3 separate regions of the Homo sapiens genome follow, and regions 1 and 2 are each linked to region 3. The links are contacts of gene promoters, found by promoter capture Hi-C in human tissues and cell types (Jung and others, 2019). All regions are on one chromosome and are shown on one strand. Each heading gives the region's core, a stretch centred on a gene start or on the middle of the fragment in contact. The rest is flanking DNA. Distances are from core to core; before and after follow the strand shown.

Region 1 (4,098 bases), core at 1,160-3,659, 59 kb before region 3:
CCCCATATTACATATATATGTAAGCTCCCCAGTTTATGGGATTTTGTTGTAGGAGCCTGAACAGACTAAGACACAGTATGTAGCCTTTTCAGATTGGCTGTTTTCACTTAGTAATATGCATTTCAGGTTTCTCACGGTCTTTTTATGGCTTGATAGCTCATGTCTTTGTAGCACTGAACAATTTTCCATTGTCTGTCTGTGGCACATACACATACCGTATATTGATGTACCACAGTTTATCCATTCACTTACTAAAATACATCTTGTTGTTTTGAAATTTTGGCAATTATGAATAAGGCTTCTGTAAACATCCTCGTGCAGATTTTATTATGGACTTAGTCTTCAGCTCCTTTGGGTAAATATCGAGGAGTACCATTGCTGGGTCATGTTAAGAGTATGTTTAATTTTGTAAGAAGCTACCGAACTATCTTTCAAAGTGGCTGTACCATTTTGTCTTTCTTCAGCAATGAGTGAGAGTTCCTTTTACTTTACATCCTCACCAGCATTTAGTGTTCTCAATGTTCTGTATTCTGGCCATTCTAATAGATATGTAGTAGTATCATGGTTATTTTAGTTTGCATTTTCCTGATGACATATGATGTGGTACAACTTCTTATATGTTTATTTGTTATCTATATATCTCCTTTGATGAGGTGTCTGTTACGGCCTTTGGCACATTTGTAATTGAGTTTGTTTTCTTATTGTCGAGCTTTAAGAGTTCTTTGGATATTACGGATGACAGCTCTTTATCAGATATGTCTGTTGAAAATATTTTTTCCCAATCTCTGCCTCGTTGTCTTATTCTCTTGACATTGACCTTCACAGAGCAGAAGGTTGGTTTTTTTTTTGTTTGTTTTGTTTTTGAGACAAAGCCTGGCTCTATCACCCAGGCTGGAGTGCAGTGGCACGATCTTGGCTCGCTGTAACCTCTGCCTCCTGGATTCAAGTGATTCTTCTGCCTCAGCCACCCGAGTAGCTGAGATTACCGACGTGCACCACCATGCCTAGCTAATTTTTTGTATTTTTGGTAGAGATGGGGTTTCACCATGCCGACCAGGCTGGTCTTGAACTCCTGACCTCGTGATCTGCCTGCCTCAGCCTCCTAAAGTGCTGGGATTACAGGCGTGAGCCACCACGCCTGGCCAGAAGTTTTTAATATTAATGAAGTCTACCTTACCAATTTTTTCTTTTGTGTATTGTGCATTTGATATTGTCTCAAAGTCATTGCCATTCCTAAGGTCATCTAAGTTTTCTCCTATGTTATATTCTAGTTTTATACATTTGCATTTTACATTTAGATCTGTAATCTGTTTTGAGTTAATTTTTTTGATAGGTATAAAGTCTGTGTCTAGATTAATTTGCATGCAGATGTCAGTTGTCATTTGTTAAGACTATTTTTGCCCCATTGTATTACCTTTGCTCTTTTGTCAAAGATCAATTAACTGTATTTAATTGGGTCTGTTTCTGGACTCTCTATTCTGTTCCATTGATCTATTTGTCTTTTCTTTTACCAATACCACATTTTTAAATTGGATTATTCTTTTCTTATTTGTATGTGTTCTTTTTACATAGTGGTTAAGAACCCCTTCTATGTTATATGCTGTAGTTTCTTCTAGCCTGACTTACTTGATTTAATGAGCACTTATTACTTAGGTAGTGAAATCTTTTTCACATGGCTATCAGCAGCTCTAGTCTGGAAATTCTTTCATATCCTGTAACTGTGTGGCTTCAGCATCTAGCACCATGTCTGGTATAGATTAAGTATTCTATAAATCGTTTGCAATGAATAATGTATAAGACCTGACCTTTTTCTTCAAGGAATTAAAGTCTAGTGTCACATAAAGTAGTCCAGAATTTAACAATGAGGAAGGGAAAAAAAAGCATAGTATCTAAATTGCATATTAAATTATGTGTTGTGCAACGGAAGACTTATCTATTGGGAAACTTCCCTAAATTAGTTCTTCTCCCTAAACATTCTATTCCTCATTTTCTTTTTTTATTTACCTCTATACTGAAAGTGAATTATTTTCTATTAGCTTAAAAATGAATTTTCTATCAGCTATAATAGGAATATTTTGTCTGCTTTTTTTGAGACAGCTTGCTGAGTTTAGTCCAAATAGTCTTGTGTTTTCTGTTATACCCAATTTCAATTTTTAACTTGAATTCTAATTTTTTTTCTTGCCATTTCAGGTAAGACCATGAATTATGGCATTTCTTAAATGAAGCGTTCAAGAAGTGAGAGAATGTCATAGAAAATAAATGATTTTTAAGTTATGTCTATTAATCTGACTGTAGATATATATATTTACCTCCTTAGTAATGCAAGAAGTGTTTGTGGGAAGCAGAGAAGCAAGCAACTGTATTTCTTGTTCTCACCTAAGCATTACTGGAGGATAAGCCACATCAGTCTACAAAGAGGTTTTCATACAAACATAATAAGATGTAAATGGACCAAAAGTGAAGCACATTCTTGCAGTAAGCACTGTTACTCTCCAAGCAACCATGGTTTACATATTGGGATTTTGAAACTTAGCACTTCTGCTCCCAAGGGACTTACAAAAGTGAACATTTGTATGTCCCGTATTAAAAGTACTTTGAACTCTGTTTCAAAGGCTGTTTTTGGCAATCAAAATGAAATGATTTCACGTTTAGCTCAATTTAAGCCAAGTTCCCAAATTTTAAGAAAAGTATCGGATAGTGGCTGGTTAAAACAGAAAAACATCAAACAAGCCATCAAATCTCTGAAAAAATATAGTGACAAATCAGCAGAAAAGAGTCCTTTTCCAGAAGAGAAAAGTCACATTATAGACAAAGAAGAAGATATAGGTAAACGCAGTCTTTTTCATTACACAAGTTCTATAACCACAAAATTTGGAGACTCATTCTACTTTTTATCAAATCATATTAATTCATATTTCAAACGTAAGGAAAAAATGTCTCAACAAAAGGAAAATGAACATTTCCGGGACAAATCAGAACTTGAAGATAAAAAGGTAGAAGAGGGGAAATTAAGATCTCCAGATCCTGGCATCCTGGCTTATAAGCCAGGCTCAGAATCTGTACATACGGTGGACAAGCCTACAAGTCCTTCTGCGATACCTGATGTTCTTCAAGTTTCAACTAAACAAAGTATTGCTAACTTTCTTTCTCGTCCCACGGAAGGTGTACAAGCTTTAGTAGGTGGTTATATTGGTGGACTTGTCCCCAAATTAAAGTATGATTCAAAGAGTCAGTCAGAAGAACAGGAAGAGCCTGCTAAAACTGATCAGGCTGTCAGCAAAGACAGAAATGCAGAGGAGAAAAAGCGTTTATCTCTTCAGCGAGAAAAGGCAAGTTGTTCAGTGTGCTTTTCGGTTCTATTACTTTTTGTCAAATTTATAAGTTTTATTTCCTAATGAGAACTAAGAAACTTTCATTGTTCTTTAGAGCAGTTTTGTATTCTAATCATATCTATTTAATATGTCTTTGTAGATTATCGCAAGGGTGAGTATTGATAACAGGACCCGGGCATTAGTTCAGGCATTAAGAAGAACAACTGACCCAAAGCTCTGCATTACTAGGGTTGAAGAACTGACTTTTCATCTTCTAGAATTTCCTGAAGGAAAAGGAGTGGCTGTCAAGGTAATTTCTAATTTATTTAATCTAGTTTTGTCTTGGAATAGAAGTACTAAAAAAAATCTAAAATGGAGAAGGCAAAGCCTTTCATTTTTCCATTTGAATTTTGTGGTTTTTATTATACATGTGATGTGTATTCAGTAATTACCCTATTTATTTTGTGACATACATTATGCTAATCAATTCATTTTATTTTGTTAGCACCAATATGTATACTTTGAAATTAAACATTTATAAAATAGAAAATAATCAGTTTATTAGTTGAATTGCCTAACAGCTGCCAGATTTTTCTTTAGTGCAATGTAAATATTTATACTATGTAACTGTTCTTTTAAGATAGGAGACATAATTCATATGTGAGGCTGTTGTTTTTATTTCATGGTCCTTTCGTATTTGAAAGTCTAAAAATTTGAATGACCTTACTCATAATTGAATTAGTAATCATATTAAGTAAAACAATGAGCTTTTCTTTGCCTCAGTTTT
Region 2 (4,085 bases), core at 416-2,915, 47 kb after region 3:
TTTTTATCCTGTTAGCTCCTGCAAGTATTCATGCATTTAAATTTGAAGGAAAAAAACCTTAAGGGTATCATCCTTTAAATAAAAGCCAAAATGTATCTCCCAGGAAAGGTTAGAGGAAATTTTCATGTTAGTGCTTAAGAAAAAAAAAGATAATTGGAGAGAAATCCACAGGTAGTCCTATATTAATAACATTTCACAGAACATTTGGGATGAGGAATTATTTTTATGAATTGAAGAAAAAATAAATGCCAACTGATTAAAAAAGGCCTTTCATAGGCTGAAGTAGTGGAAAGTTGGAAAAAGTATCAACAATTAGAATATAATCAATTCATTGTAGAAGGAAAGTTTTTTTAAAAAAACAGAATAAAACTGAAAATGGAACAAAATTTTGTGCTTGATTTTGTGTGCAAATTAACAAGTTTTATCGGGATGATACGAAAGATGTTATATAAACTATTTTGTTTCAAGGATGACATAGCAAACAAGGCGTTTTTCTTTGCTTGCTTTACCTTAAATACTGACCCAAGATAGAACTAGTATAGAAAAAATCAGTTTCAAGGGTCTGAACCACCCCATGCTGGACCACTTCCTCCACTATCCCTGATAGGGGCTCAGTCATACAGGCTGCCCTTCCACACTTGCTGTGACAAAGGACTTGACCCTCACGAGGTGACCTGTTTTGTCCTTGGACAGTTCTCCTTACAAAGTTCTTAGTACTGTATTAAAGTAAAATCTACCTTCAGGGAAGGTTTACCTCTAACGCATATTAGATTGAGCTTTAAAAATTGATCAAGGCCCAGTCCCTACCTCAGACCAATTAAATCCCTGGGATTGGGGCCCAAGCATCAGAACTGTTTTTGAAAGTGCCCCAGGGAGTTTCATGTACAGTGAGGACTGGCAACCACTGTACTCCCAGAAACCCATCAAATTTAAGGAGCACTCTCACATTTCACCTTCATCTTTTGTCCAAGAAAATTATCCCCTAGTCTTTCTATGAAATGGCTTGTAATGTTTTAAAGGTTTGTGGGATGAGTATCAATGCATACTGCAACCACTATAACAAGACAATTCTTAATAAGAAATTGGGTGAAATACAGTCATAGTGACTAGAATTATAAGGAAACACCCAAATTTAATCAAGGGCTATTTAATATGGGCTTATATTTTTCTATCTGTACTTTAATGAAGTTTTTAAACTTGAATTCGAGGTCCGCACAGTTGCAGCAGTTGTACTAAAATACAACTTAAGAATATTGATTTGAGAGTCTCTTGAGTCAGGAACTATTTGCTGGGTATGCCTATAGTTTTTAATGGCTCAGGGTTCTTCTTTTTGTAATGATTTAAAAACAAACAAGGTGGTGGCAGGAATAAGTCAAAGGTGAGACACATATTTGGCTTGATTTAGTGGGAAATCAATCATTCAAATACAACCTTTTAAAAAGAAAGATATAATATGCAAAACAATTTTTATTTAGAAGTTAGAACTGCAAATTATGATATAGTGTTAGAATCTAGATGTCCTTCAAAAGTCTATGCATATTATTTTATCTAACAAGGTAAACATAACCTTGTGTTCACAGCTTCTATGGGTGTGAAATTTTTTTGCCAGGGGAAATTTTGCTAAATTTTAATTTTTCACTACTAAAATAAGGGTCTATTACAGGTTACATATAAGATGCTGTTGAAACCATTAGAACATGGGGGAAGCCATCATGCTCCTCCTCCCCCAAAATGGGGTCTTGGACCCCTGAGCTGGGCATCAGAATGAAGGAGGAGCGACCTGTCCTCAGGCCTGGTGCCTGGAGACTGGGGTGATGCGCGAGATGGCACCGGGGTGAAAATGGAATTGAAGAGTGACCCAGGGAGAGATCTAAAGAGGCTCTGGAGAGAGGTCAACAGGAGATGTCAGAACAGATGGGGAAGTTTGGGAAGGAAGTGTCAGAAGCTTTAGATTTTAGTATAAGTGTGGCTGTCACAGACTGTTCGTAGGAGTGGGAGGTGCAATGCATTGAGCTGGTTATTGGAAGTTGCCAGATGGCTTTACTTTCCTTCCTATGCAGGATGTAAAATATGTCATCCATTTCTATTTAGGAAAAAACATTCAATGTTGTTTTGTTTTAGCTGAAGCAGTGATAGTGGTCAGCAGTCTGGAAATTCTACCTTTTTGCAGGTTACATTTCTCTTAATGCTCTGCACGCGTTGATCCTACCTAACCTCAAATTCCTGCCTAGCCTCCATCCTGTGACCAAAGTGAATCTCACTCCTCTGGGGCCGTGTGAGACTCCACAGCCACCTTCTCTTTCTAGGCAGGTGTTTTGTGCCTTCCCTCACACAAACAGCTCCCTGAATATGTCACACCCCTCGTTCCCCAGCTTAAGGGCTCCATTCACCTAATTTCATTTTGCAATGCCTTGTGGAGGTAGGAGGCGACAAGGAATTGAGGAGGGTGACAGTCCCAGTTCTCCTACCCGCCCCGCCTCTACAGTCATCCCACTGAACCCAAGGAGGACATTTCTTACTGAATGAGGGTCGGCTCCATTTCTTTCTCTTCTAATCCCTTTCAGGGAGTGCTCAGCTTGGTGAGGAATGAAACCCAATGCTCCATGGCCCCTTTCCAGCTGGGTGCAGTTCCAAACTGCATTCAAAGCCAACACTAATTATGTTCAAAGTTTCATATTAGTAACGGAGTAAAGACATATGTGAGCTAATATTAAATATCAATTTTCCCTAATAAGAGGCTTTGGCTATTTTATTGTGGATATGAAGCTGTCTTGGTATCTGTATGTGAAGACACTGGCATAGAACCTCATATGTCAGGAGGGGAGGATGGTGCCCTCTGGCAGGAAGCTTCCAATTTTCCGGGACAGCTTTTCTCACATTCTTGCTAAAAAGCCTGTGCCCAGCTCAGCAGCTTGGCAAATAGAGCAAAACCTCCTGGATTTGAATGGCACTCATAGAGAATCCATGACCACCAAATAGGGCCACAACAGGTTCATTTTTACATTTTCTCCGTTTAGTTCTTCCTAGACAAATCAATATTTAACCAGTTTGTGGATTTAATCTAGTTTAAATTCATTTAAGAGAATGTTGGGCTCTTAAAAAGTGTCAGTTCCATACAAGCATATAATCTATGTGCTACCTAGCATAGTACCTAGTACACGATAGGCAATTAAAGGTTGGATTTATGAATTATTATGAATCATTAAAGGAAGTCTCTAAATTTCTTTGCTGGGTGGCAGTTTTTTTAAAAAAAGAAAACAAATCTGTTATTGTTTGTAGTTGAAAATGATAAAATCACTTCTTTAAAAATATTCCCTTATCAATTTTATATCAATCACATCAATTTAAATTTGGAAAGATTCATTATATATTAGATTAATAGTTCTTGGCTTCACATTACAACCACCTGGAGAGTCCTACCCAAGACCAATTAAATCGGAATCTCAATTGTGGGCTTTGGCCATCTGGAGTTTTGCTTTTTTAACAGCTTTATTGAGATATAATTAAACACAACAAACTGCACATACTTAAAATGGACAATTTGATAAATTTTAACATACACCTGTGAAACCATCAACACAATCAAGATAGTAAACATATCGCCTGTGGTTTTAAAACCAGCTCAGGTGATTCCCAAGTCCAGCAGAGCTGAGAACTACTGCAATACAGCCTCAAAATCATGAGCTGGGTAAGCACATAACTTCTAGCTGTTCTTCCCTTCCAATCAGGCAGACTGCTCACTGTCAAACTACAGATCTACAGCAAATGGTGAGGGCAGGGCTGTGATGGGAGAAGGTGAGAAATAAGTGGGCATTTGGGCTGGCTGTGCTCTGAGCAGGTACTTGGCCTGAAATACTCTCGGTTCAGTTGATCACAATCTTAGATGAGAGAAATGGAACTTCACAGTTGAATAATGCTCCATATATCAGATTCCATATAACAATCTTACTGGTGGTTTTTCAGCCAGTGCTAGTAAAATAGCGCACCTTTAAAAAAATCATATAAAAAGTCAGCCAGTTGGAATAACATTAATATCCAATATTAGGGCAGCGATTAAATAGATATGGTTTCTTTATATGGTAGAA
Region 3 (3,675 bases), core at 990-3,489:
CTGAAGAGAAAGAACAATTCTAAGCAGAAGTTCAAGGAGCTGTTTAAAGAGGGTCTTTATGAGATTGTAACACAGGAAGACACAAGCAATGTTGCTTCAGTGCCCGGGGGATAAATTACTACACAGAACCAGGGCAAGAACTGAAGAGAGTAGGGTGTCATTTTCCCACTTGACAGGTTTGCCCTGTGGCATTCACTGGAAAATAATGTGGACCAGAAATCAATGTTTCTCAGTGGCCGGGGTGAGGGGCAATCTTGGAAAACCAGAGTACGAAGTAGAAGGACATGGGAAGGACAGGCAAGACAACCCCAGGATTCTCAGCAATTACTGCAGTGGGGAAGGAACGGAGGGGCCTCAAGTCCTTTACACAGGGCAAAATGATGGGGCAGTGAGAGTTGATTATGGTTATCTGTGGCTTCATTTGTATTGATGAGAAATGTGGTTACACAAAAATAAATAAGACAAATTGTCCTCAAAGAAGTGAAATTTTATGGAGTCAGACATGCAAACAGATCATTAAAAGGTGACCAGCACTATTATAATAGTCCTTACAGAGGAGGTAACAACCAAGTAAGGCTCTGAAGGATGAACAAGAGTTTGCCAAATGAAAAAGAGATGGACCAATATTCTAGCTAGGAGGAACCTCACATGCAGAGGCTTAGAGTTATGGAAAATGGAGAGATAAGTTAGGAGCAGATTGTAAAGAGGCACACCAGGAGATGTGGAATTTACTTTGTAGGCAATAGAGAACCAGCCCACCAGCCCAGACTTTCAAGTAGGGGGATCATGGAATCTTTTTTTTTGCGGGGGGGAAGGTATTTTAGAGGAAAATTTGGACAATTAGTTGAGAGGTGCAAGGTACCACCTGAATGGCAGTTGGGTAAGGACTAGAGTCAGAAGAACCACTGATGGGACTGTGGAAACAACTTGTGCAATGACCCAGCAGCCAGATATCATGCTGGTTCAGGAACCGAGGGAGGCTCTGTGAGGCCAGAGCACATTTGGCTGGAGAAGGAGGAGAGGATGGCAGTAGAAGGAGAAGGAAAAGAAGGCTGCTCACTTGCATGCAGATGCTGTGAGCTGACGGGGCAAGTTCAAATTGAAGTTAGAACAGACCACTGGGGTAGTCAAGACCTTGAAGGATGAACCTGTTTCTTTTTCATTCCTGAATCTTGCCCCAGCACCTTGGAGGCTGGGGGTGGAGGAGGTGGTGAGGTGGGGTGGGGTGGTGAGGAGCTCAGAAAATGTTTTCCTGAATTAGAGAACTGAAGGAATCAAGGCTCCGCTGAGCTCACTAAGCGCTGGAGCCTGCTGTAAGTGGTCAAGTCGGGTGATACCCAGCAGACAAGTAATTTGTGTGCAGACCGGAGTAGATTACGGAGGACCCAAGGGTCAGGCTAAGGATCCTGAACACCATCCACGATAGAGTGGAGACGTGCGCTTCGGAGCCTGAACTATGCAGCAAGCAGTGTGTTTACTCAAATACTATACAGTTGGAAAATCTTAATTCTCGATTTACATTGCCAAAAAAAAAAAAAAAAAATCTCCATAATACTCCCCCATTTGTAAATAAGCAAATCCGAACTAACCCTATTCCTTGGGACCAGAAGACCCAGTTTCTACCGCGGATAGATAGCATCCGCCTTATGCTAAAAGCTCTTTTTTCTGCGGTGGTGGGGGGCGGCGGGGAGTGTTTGGAAAGAACGGTTGCAAAAACAAAACAAAACCCCCAAAACCACTCACCCAATCTCAACCACCCCAACTGATGAATTTCGAAGAAAGTGCTTTTTAAAAAAGAAAAAACTAGAAGACCACAGACCTCCCACAGAAAGCTAAACCCATGAGAGTGGCATTCAAAAACTACCCATTTTCTGGAACATCTTTTGTAGCTAAATCCCAGCCATCCTAGCCCCGGAACACTCCCGCCCTCCGTCCCCGCACCCCCACCCCCGCCGCCACACGCGCTCGCAGGCTGACGGAGGTTGGCGGTGGGGCGGCCGCTCAGGTGAGGGGCCACCCAGTCCCTCGAGGCGCCGGCGGCTGGAGCCCATTCGCTGCCGTCGCAGCAGCAGGGCAAGAGGGGGTTGGCCAGGAGGGGAGGAGGCGGAGGACGCCCGCAGGGAGTGCGGGGGAGGGGGACGGGAGGACGCTAAGGAGAGCCGGGAGGGGCAAAAGCACGGCGCGGGGAGGGGGAGCGGAGAGGGCGGGAGCGGCGGGGGCGCGCGCCGGCGCGGGGCCAGCCTCGCTTCGCCAGGGTCGCTGGCGGACGCGCGCCGCAGTCCGAGCCTCAGACGCGCGGGCGCGGGGGACGGCGCAGGGGCCGCCTGGCTGGAGCAGCCAGAGGGGATAGCTTCGTCGAGAACGGAGGACACCGGCGGTCCAGGGTCCTGGGCAGTCGCGCCAGAGCTGAGCGGAGGGCGCGGCGCGAGAACGTAAGTAGCTCCTTGCGCGTCTGGCGGTGACACTGGGTCCTGCTCGGGGGTGACGGCTGGAGCGGAGGAGGACGCGCGAGGCTGCTGCGTTGTCACTTGGACACCGCCGCGGGGTTCAGCCGAGCGCTCACCGGGCTGGCAGCGCTGCAGGAGGGGCAAAGCAGATCTCCAACTCCCTTCTCCCCTGCAGGCCCCCGACACTCCCGCGGGCGCCGAGAGGGAGCAGGGGGACCTGCGCTTGGGTGAAGGCACAGCTGAAATCCAGCAGCGCCGGCACCCACCACCCCCTCCAGCCTGTGGCCAACTTCTGCTCCGCGCCCGCACCCCACGCTTTCCGGGAAGCCCTGCCCAGAGCTCTTGCTCGTGGGCAGTTGGGCATGGAGAGCCTGCGGGCCCGGCACGGCGGCTTCCCGGGCTTGGACACGGAGGCGCGGGGCGTCACGCCACAGTGCCGGCGGGGCGAGGAGCGCGGGGGCCGGGCCGGGAGCGCACGGGCGTGTGCCTGTTCGGGCCCCTGCGGACACGTCTGGGCGTGGGCTTTGTTCGGAAGTGCGTACACCTGTGCTGACCACGGAGTTCGGGGGCGAGGCCGACTTCGCTTCTCCAGTCGCTGCCTGGAGAGGGCTCGGGGAATCGAGGCGGAACGAGAGAGACACGGAGGACAGAGGGGTGGGGCGCTTGCGGGGGCTTTGTCGGCCTTACAGGTGCGGGTCCCGGGAGTCCCTGCGCCCCGCCCTGCCTCCGAGGGCTGGGACTTGTCGGGGCCGGCGCACCGGGCTGGGGGCTGCCTGGAAAGATTGCTTTCCCAGCCCAGGCTCTTAGCGGTGGGATCTGGCATCCGCTCCGCCCGGGATGCTGTGTTGAGCCAGGAGTGATTACCCGCCCTGGAGCATCCATCTCGCAGCGAGCGCCATCTGCGCCGAGCGCCGCCCCCGGCCCCCTCCACGCCGCGCGGGTGGGCGCTGCCGCATCCTGGTCCCAGGCGGTTGGCCAGCTCAGCTACTCCCGGCCCGCATCTGCTAGAGTGCGGAGGGGGACGGGGTGTCGCAGTAGGGTGAGCAAGGGAGTCGTCATTTCTCCCAAAGCGGTGTCCTCAGGGCCGCAAGCGCTGCTGGAGGGCTCCCCGGGCCCCGGGGCTGGCGAACAGGCCGCTTCCTTCCCCGGATCGCCTCCCCTCCCGCCCGCGCCCGCGGCCACATCTTCGTCCCCCGTACGCTGGCGGGTGGCCCCTGCGCCGCGGGCA

The links. Contacts are between HindIII fragments. The study calls those that stand out against the background at their distance.
Region 1: a contact is called between a fragment that was not itself captured here and the fragment with the promoter of NRCAM in region 3, in 1 of the 25 tissues and cell types used here (neural progenitor cells).
Region 2: a contact is called between a fragment that was not itself captured here and the fragment with the promoter of NRCAM in region 3, in 2 of the 25 tissues and cell types used here (dorsolateral prefrontal cortex and hippocampus).

The regions. Positions count from the first base shown.
Region 1 is chr7:108,513,667-108,517,764 of GRCh38, reverse strand. PNPLA8 (patatin like domain 8, phospholipase A2) reads left to right here. Exons shown (of 11, transcript NM_001256007.3): 3 at 2,191-3,329; 4 at 3,472-3,621. The coding sequence starts at 2,274. Among named protein-coding and RNA genes, the nearest start is that of PNPLA8, 10 kb to the left of the region's middle. The HindIII fragment of the contact is 8,100 bases long and covers 1-4,098 here.
Region 2 is chr7:108,407,276-108,411,360 of GRCh38, reverse strand. All of the region lies in intron 1 of NRCAM (neuronal cell adhesion molecule), which reads left to right. Among named protein-coding and RNA genes, the nearest start is that of NRCAM, 47 kb to the left of the region's middle. The HindIII fragment of the contact is 4,327 bases long and covers 1-3,828 here.
Region 3 is chr7:108,455,000-108,458,674 of GRCh38, reverse strand. It overlaps NRCAM (neuronal cell adhesion molecule), which reads left to right and starts at 2,239. Exons shown (of 33, transcript NM_001037132.4): 1 at 2,239-2,432. The HindIII fragment of the contact is 13,209 bases long and covers 1-3,675 here.